Linked DNA regions of Homo sapiens: region 1 is linked to region 2. The links are contacts of gene promoters, found by promoter capture Hi-C in blood cells and fetal thymus (Javierre and others, 2016). All regions are on one chromosome and are shown on one strand. Each heading gives the region's core, a stretch centred on a gene start or on the middle of the fragment in contact. The rest is flanking DNA. Distances are from core to core; before and after follow the strand shown. Region 1 has its middle 7.6 kb from the start of FHOD3. Region 2 holds the start of SLC39A6 (solute carrier family 39 member 6).

Evidence for each region. Contacts are between HindIII fragments. The CHiCAGO score rates a contact against its expected background, and 5 or more counts as called.
Region 1: a fragment that was not itself captured here is called in contact with the fragment with the promoter of SLC39A6 in region 2 in 1 of 17 cell types (endothelial precursors); the score reaches 6.8 in endothelial precursors.

Annotation. Positions count from the first base shown.
Region 1 is chr18:36,288,293-36,291,908 of GRCh38, reverse strand. No RefSeq gene overlaps it. Among named protein-coding and RNA genes, the nearest start is that of FHOD3, 7.6 kb to the left of the region's middle. The HindIII fragment of the contact is 911 bases long and covers 1,900-2,810 here.
Region 2 is chr18:36,126,739-36,130,589 of GRCh38, reverse strand. SLC39A6 (solute carrier family 39 member 6) reads left to right here and starts at 1,250. Exons shown (of 10, transcript NM_012319.4): 1 at 1,250-1,476; 2 at 3,574-3,851. The coding sequence starts at 3,583. It overlaps ELP2 (elongator acetyltransferase complex subunit 2), which reads right to left and starts at 691. Exons shown (of 22, transcript NM_018255.4): 1 at 519-691. The coding sequence starts at 656. RefSeq lists enhancers at 440-649, 441-946, 810-999, 1,030-1,324, 947-1,452. The HindIII fragment of the contact is 4,684 bases long and covers 1-1,772 here.

The sequences.
Region 1 (3,616 bases), core at 1,106-3,605, 160 kb before region 2:
CATTTATACAAAAGAGCTTCTAAGAATCTTAAGGGTGTTGTTCCACAGCAGCATGACATGCCCAGAGGAGGAAGGATTATGTGTATAGTGTTTGGCACATGGAGTAAACCCTAGTAAGACTGATAGAAAATCCACAACATTTTTCAGATAGTTGTATTTATGAAAGCACTGTCAGCTTAGGCTAAAAGGGACTGAGATTGTTCAAAATAAAAAGAAACTTATGGAACTCCAACCTGAAATGGATAAGAAGCAGACAAACATAAAGAAGAATGAAATCATGTCCTTTGCAGCAACTTGGATTGAGCTAGAGGCCATTATCCTAAGTGAAATAACCCAGAAAAAGAAAATCAGATACCACATATTCTCACTTGTGAGAGCTAAACAGTGGGCACTCATGGACATAAAGATGGAAATAATAGGCACTAGGGACTCTAAAAGGGGAAGAGGAAGGAGGCAAAGGTTGAAAAGCTACCTATTTTGTTTACTGAATACCATCTCAATACTGTATTCACTGTTTGGGTGATGGTTTCACTAGAATCCCAAACCTCAACATTATGCAATATACCCACATAACAAAACTGTACCTGAATTAATAATAAAATAAAACTAAAGACCAGGCGTGGTGGCTTACACCTGTAATCCCAGCACTTTGGGAGGCTGAGGCAGGTGGATCTCCAGGTCAGGAGATCAAGACCATCCTGGCTAACACGGTGAAACCCCGTCTCTACTAAAAATACAAAAAATTAGCCGGGCGTGGTGGCAGACGCCTGTAGTCCCAGCTACTAGGGAGGCTGAGGCAGGAGAATGGCGTGAACCCAGGAGGTGGAGCTTGCAGTCAGCCGAGATCATGCCACTGCACTCCAGCCTGGGCAACAGAACGAGACTCCGTCTCAAAAAAAAAAAAAAAAAAACTAAAATTAATTAAAAAAAAAAAACTAAAGTAAGAAAGTTTCTCTGCTGCAAACACGGCAGCCATTACCTTTGGAAAAGGAAGGTTCTATCAGAGCATGGGAACTAAGGATCGTGGGGAACAAAAAACTTGGAAACCATCCCAGGAAGCAGAACTGGGCCGTAGTCTCCTGGAGTAAGAGAAACTGGCAACATGTGTCTGGCTGGAGTTCAGCATTGCTATGAATCAATGACTGCTGTGTGTCTTCCAATCTGTCTATTTTTTATTTTATTATTATTATTATTGAGATGGGTCTCACTCTGTCACCCAGGCTGGAGTGCAGTGGCGTGATCTTGGCTCACAGCAACCTTCACCTCCTGGAGATTCTCGTGCCTCAGCCTCCCAAGTAGTTGGGATTACAAGTGCACACCACTTCACCTATCTAATTTTTGTGTTTTTAGTAGAGGCGGGGTTTCACCAGTTGGCCAGGCTGGTCTCTAACTCCCGGGCTCAAACAACCCACCCACCTCAGCCTCCCAAAGTGCTAGAATCACAGGTGTAAGCCACCACACCTGGCCCCAGTCTGTCTATTTTTAAATGTGAGTGCCTCTTGAAGTTATTCTGTCCCAATTTCACCATTGCATATTGAGTGTGAAAGGGCTATACACTTTGTCTTTTACGGTAACAGGTCTCTGCATCAGAGCAGTTGTACCCGAGGAGAAAGTCCTCATCTGCATGCAGATTCAAATAATGGTTTCCTCACCACTTTCCCAGCCTCTGCCCCCTGCCCAGTCCTAAAACCACTGTCACACAATTTAGGGGTTTGTTATGGTAGCACTCTACTTCTAGGTACCAATTCCTGTTTTATTTAGTCTTTGTTGTATAAGAAACCACTCCAAAATGTAGTAGCTTAAAATAACAACCATTTTATTTTCTTTTGATTCTGTGGATCAGCAATTTGATCTGGTCTCACCTGAGATCGTTCATGTAGTTGCAGTCATCTAGAAGCTTGACTGGGACTGGTGGGACTAAAATAGCCTCCTTCCATGCCTGGTAATGTACGCTGGCTGTCAGCTGGCTGGTCCAGATGGGGGCTTCAGTTAGAATGGTTCATCTCTCCTTGGGTTTCTCATCTAATAGGCTAGACCTGGCTTCTTTACACTGGTAGACTTAGGATAGCATTCTAAGAGGTCAACAGTGGAAGCTGCAAGATCTCTTGAGACCTGGGCTTAGAAATTATGCTGTATCAGTTTTGCTACTCTTTTTTTTTTTTTGGTTGAAATAAGTTAAGATCAGCTTAGATTCAAGAAGTGGGGAAATAGATTCCACTCCCTGATGGGAGAAGTGAAATCACATTGCAAAGAGGTACACGTACCCAGATATGAAGAAATGTTGTAGTCATCTCTGAAACAATATAACACATATGTTATACAATTCTAGGTTAAAATGATTTTTACTCAGAATTTTGAGGCATTGCTTCATTGTCTTCTAATTTTTCTTGTTGCTTTAGACTATTTGTGCTGTGGTATAGCTGGCCCTCTGTGTCTGTGGGCTCTGCATCCATGGAGTCAACCTACACAGATTGGAAATATTCAAAAAAAGAATGAATGCTTGCATCTATACTAAACATGTACAGACTTTTTTTATTTGTCATTATTTCCTAAACAACACAACAGCTATTTACATAACATTTACATGATATTAGATATTATAAGTAATCTACAGATGATTTAAAGTATACAGGAGGATATGCATAGGTTATGTTAAATACTACACCATTTTATGTGAAGGACTTGAGCACCCACGGATTTTGGTATCCAAGGGAGGTCCTGGAACCAAACAACCATGAATATCAAGGGGCAACTGTATAGGTAACTCTACATTGTATAGGTAACTTTTTTCCCCTCTCTCTTTGGAAGCTTTTTGAACCTTCTCATTATTCCCAATATACTGAAATTCCATGATGAGGTGCCCTGGTGGGGATTCTTTTTCATTCATCCTGTTGTCATTTTGTGGATATTACTTAATCCAGAGATCCTGCTCTTTGATGCAGAAATGTTCTTATATCCTGTTTTTGATCATTTCCTCTCCACAGTGTTCTCTGCTTGCTCTTCCTAGAACTCCTATTATTCAGATGTTGGATCACTAAGCAGGTTCTCTAATTTTCTTAACTTTTCTGCCCTGTTCATCTCTCTGATTATTTTCTTCTACTTTTTGGGAAATTTCCTAAACTGTATTTCCTTTTCTTCTACTGAATGTTGTATTGCAGCATTCATGTTTTTACTTTTCAAGAATTCTGTCTTGTTCTGTGATTTTTCTTTTTAAAATATCTTGTTCTTATTTCCAGGATTTCCCTGATATTATTAACCACATTTTCTTTAAAGTTTTCTTCTTTTTGCTGCACTGTTTCTGTACACTTTGGGTTCTTCCTTTCTTCTTTTTCTTTCAGTTTTTTTCTTTTATAGTAGACACTTTCCTCAAATGGCATGATCCTTGGCTGTTCATCACATTGAAAGCCAACTGGGAGGCTGGGCAATGTGGCCCACTTCTGTAATCCCAGCACTTTGGGATGCCGAGGCAGGCGGATCACTTGAGGTCAGGAGTTTGAGGCCAGCCTGACCAATGTGGTGAAACCCTGTCTCTACTAAAACTACGAAAAATAGCTGGGTGTGGTGGCAGGCGCCTGTAATCCCAGCTACTTGGGAAGCTGGGGCAGGAAAATCGCTT
Region 2 (3,851 bases), core at 1-2,500:
TCCCCTATGACCTTTCCCCCAAACTGACACTTTCTCTAAAATGTCCATTCCCGTAGCTAAAACACAGGTAACATTTCCTTGAAATTCAATACAACAAAAGTTCATTAACCAAAACTGAAGGAAATACTGAAATGAGATTGCACCTGTGGGATGATGGTTTTAATCTACATATAAATTTCAATTGTTTTAAAACCCAAATTGATTAACGGTACTACAGTTCCCAAGGAAGGCTTCAGGTAAGATGCTTATCATTCGGGTTTCTGCGTGGGACTAACAGGTTACTAGCAGCTCATGGGCAGCAATGACCCTAGGATGACGCCACGCGTGAGACGGCAAAGGGTGAGGGGTGAGGAGCGAGTCCGGCAGGTCCACTGGAGACTCCGAGCCCAAACCCCGCTCCCCTGAGCCGACCCGACTCGCCTCCTAGGTCTGGGGCGGCAACTAACAGCGCGCCCGGAGCACGTCCACAGGTTCAACCCGAAAAGCACAAGGGTCGGCCGTCCAGCGACCTCTCTTACCAGGGGGTCATAGAGCACCACGGAGCAGGACGTGCCAAAGGCCAGAAGTCCTCTGGGCCCAGAGCTCCAGTTCAGGACTCCCCGCACCCGGTTTGGGCAGCAAAACACGTGAGAAGTCTCCAGCACGGGTGCCACCATGTCGCCAACTGGTCAGCCGCACAAACAAGAGACGCGCACTTCCGCCCTCGGAGCGGAACTACTAGGGTGGTTTCTCCTGAGGCATCACCCAGTCCACGTTTCGCAGCCAGCCGAGGGCCAGACGGAGGCAGCCCCGCCCCCCTGAGACTCTCCGTTCCCACCGCAGGCTGGAACCCCTGTGCAAGGCCGCCGCTTTGCTAGCTCTGCTCTTGGACCGTGGCCCCGCTCCGCGAACGAGCCAGGCCTTTGTCTCAAGAGCGAAATCCGACCCGAGTGGCTCGGGACCCTCCCGAAGGACCCGGGGCTCATGTGCCTGGGGCAGCGTCAGAAACATCTCGCTGCCCCTTACGACCCGGCTCCCAGCAGCAGCCAGGGCTGGCCCCGGGGGCGCTGGCTAGCGAGTAGGGCCTCGAGGAAATGACCCCCAACTGCTTACAATGCGCTAGGGCCGCGCCACGCCCCCGCGGCGTCGGCGAACACACGGAAAAGCGGATCCGTCTGCGGAGCCGGGTTCCGGGGTCGCACTGCGCATGCCCTGCAGTCCTGGGCGAAGGGGGCGGTGGTTCCCCGCGGCGCTGCGCGCGGCGGTAATTAGTGATTGTCTTCCAGCTTCGCGAAGGCTAGGGGCGCGGCTGCCGGGTGGCTGCGCGGCGCTGCCCCCGGACCGAGGGGCAGCCAACCCAATGAAACCACCGCGTGTTCGCGCCTGGTAGAGATTTCTCGAAGACACCAGTGGGCCCGTTCCGAGCCCTCTGGACCGCCCGTGTGGAACCAAACCTGCGCGCGTGGCCGGGCCGTGGGACAACGAGGCCGCGGAGACGTGAGTCTTTCAGGTCCGGGAGCAGGGCGGCTGGGAGGGGAGCTCCTCAGGCCAGACAGGCGTGGCGGGGTAGGGGTGGTTCTGCGGAGAACCGGATCCTGCGGACCGGGCAGGGGGGCTACAGAAAGAGGATGCTGGGGGGAGCCCGCCGCAGGCGCCCACTCACCCTAGAGAGCCGGACTTCTTAAGGTGCTCAGATGGGCTTCGGGGTGCAACGGAGGATTTTTTGAGGAAAAGATCCGTACTTTTCATCCCATATTCGAAGAAGGGACTGACGTGTTTAGAAATAAAAAGCTTTTAGAAGAGAGCTTTGTGCCCTCTTTTCCGTTTTCTGTACTCGCCTTTTTCTCTAAGGCCCTTCCCTTCTGCTTTCCTTTTTCCTCCAGCACACACCAACTTGCAGGAAAGGAGATCCTTCAACGGGTCCACGACCGCGCTCAGCATCCTCCCTGGAGAAAGGCTCGGAGCTGTCCCCTGTGCTAGTCCCCTCCCACCCCGCTCCTCGCCTCTCTCCTGGGAATGATTTCTAAATGTTTATCTTTTACCTAGTAAAAGAATTCCCGAAACTTCAAGCCCCAAAGATTCCTCTTTCAGGAGCCTCGTTCTACGCCGTACCTCCATTTCCCACTGTTCCCTGTATGATACCTCGCACTTGTGCAACACATGAGTTTAACGAGTACTTGTAATATACATTCCTTCATGTGTTTTCCTCCTTCGCCTTGCAAAATAGGTTTTACCGGTATTTTAGATAAGGTAATGAATGCGAGAGCCCTGTCCAAAGAACAGCTGACCGTGGTAGAGCTGGATAGCCCCATGCTCTTGCTTAGTTGTAAACTTGACGTCTGCGTCTTTTGCTGGAGATGTGAGTTTGACCACCATCACCTCCACCGTTGGTGCTGGACATCCTGCTGGATCTGAATTAACTGAATTCTGGCTCTGCTTAACTGAATTCTGCTTTTCAAGCTCCAACTCAATTGCTTCCTCCTCTTTGGGGCACAGGCCTTTGGTTCCAAACACTACTGTGGATGATTAACAGCCTGTGATTAAATGTTGACTGGTTTGTAGTAACACAAGGATGCTACAGTGAGTTTTTCATGAAGTTCAGTTTACTTTAAGAATTCTATGTATGGACATAATGTGTCTGATTCATTGTCAAGTCGGAAAAAAGATTCAATGTGTATTTAAAGTATACACTTATTTGAGGCTGGGCGTAGTGGTCACGCCTGTAATCCCAGCACTTTGGGAATTGGAGGTGGAGGATCTCTTGAGGCCAGGAGTTCAAGACCAACCCGGACAACATAGTGAGACCTCGTCTCTAGAAAAAAAAAAAAAAAACTTTAAAAAAAAAATTAAGTATACATGTATTTGAGTATGCATAGAAAATATCCTGAGGGATACACTGGCAAAATTGAGCACCTTTGAGGATTGTGATTGGGGAAAGGGGTCTTAAATGGGCTTGTATGTAAGGAGAGTGTATTAGTTTAAAATTTTTTAAATATGTGAATTCTGAGATTATTATTTCTATTTTTTGGTGTTTGAAGGTTATTTTATGAAATGATGGTGATGATCAAGGTAGCTAGATTTCATTTCGTTCTTTTTTTTTTTTGAGACAGGGTTTCACAATGTTGCCCAGGCTGGTCACAAACTCCTGGCCTCAGGTGATCTGCCTGCCTCAGCCTCCCAAAGTGCTGGGATTATAGGCATGAGCCACCACACCCAGCCTAGATTTAATTATGAATCATTGGCCTCAATGATTCAAATAATCGTTCAAATAAATTCTCAACTTCAGTAAGCAGTTGATGGCTGTGGCCACATGGATCTCCCTTGTCTCTGAATTACTATTGCTTTTACAGTGCTAATGGCAGTCTCTTAGCACTCAGCTCTTCTCCAGTTGTTTCATGTGTTTTAGGAATGCAAGGGTAGAGCCTAGGACTCTAGTTCTTTCCATCTTCACAGTACCTAGCGTCACACTGGTCACACCACATGATGCTCTGGCAACTTTGATTATTTGATTACACATTAATTTTCAGTATGAGGTTTCTTAATTCAATTTGTTTTAGAAGTGAGTCAAGAATTTTTTTTTCCTGTCTTTTCTAGGAAGGCGCAATGGCGAGGAAGTTATCTGTAATCTTGATCCTGACCTTTGCCCTCTCTGTCACAAATCCCCTTCATGAACTAAAAGCAGCTGCTTTCCCCCAGACCACTGAGAAAATTAGTCCGAATTGGGAATCTGGCATTAATGTTGACTTGGCAATTTCCACACGGCAATATCATCTACAACAGCTTTTCTACCGCTATGGAGAAAATAATTCTTTGTCAGTTGAAGGGTTCAGAAAATTACTTCAAAATATAGGCATAGATAAGATTAAAAGAAT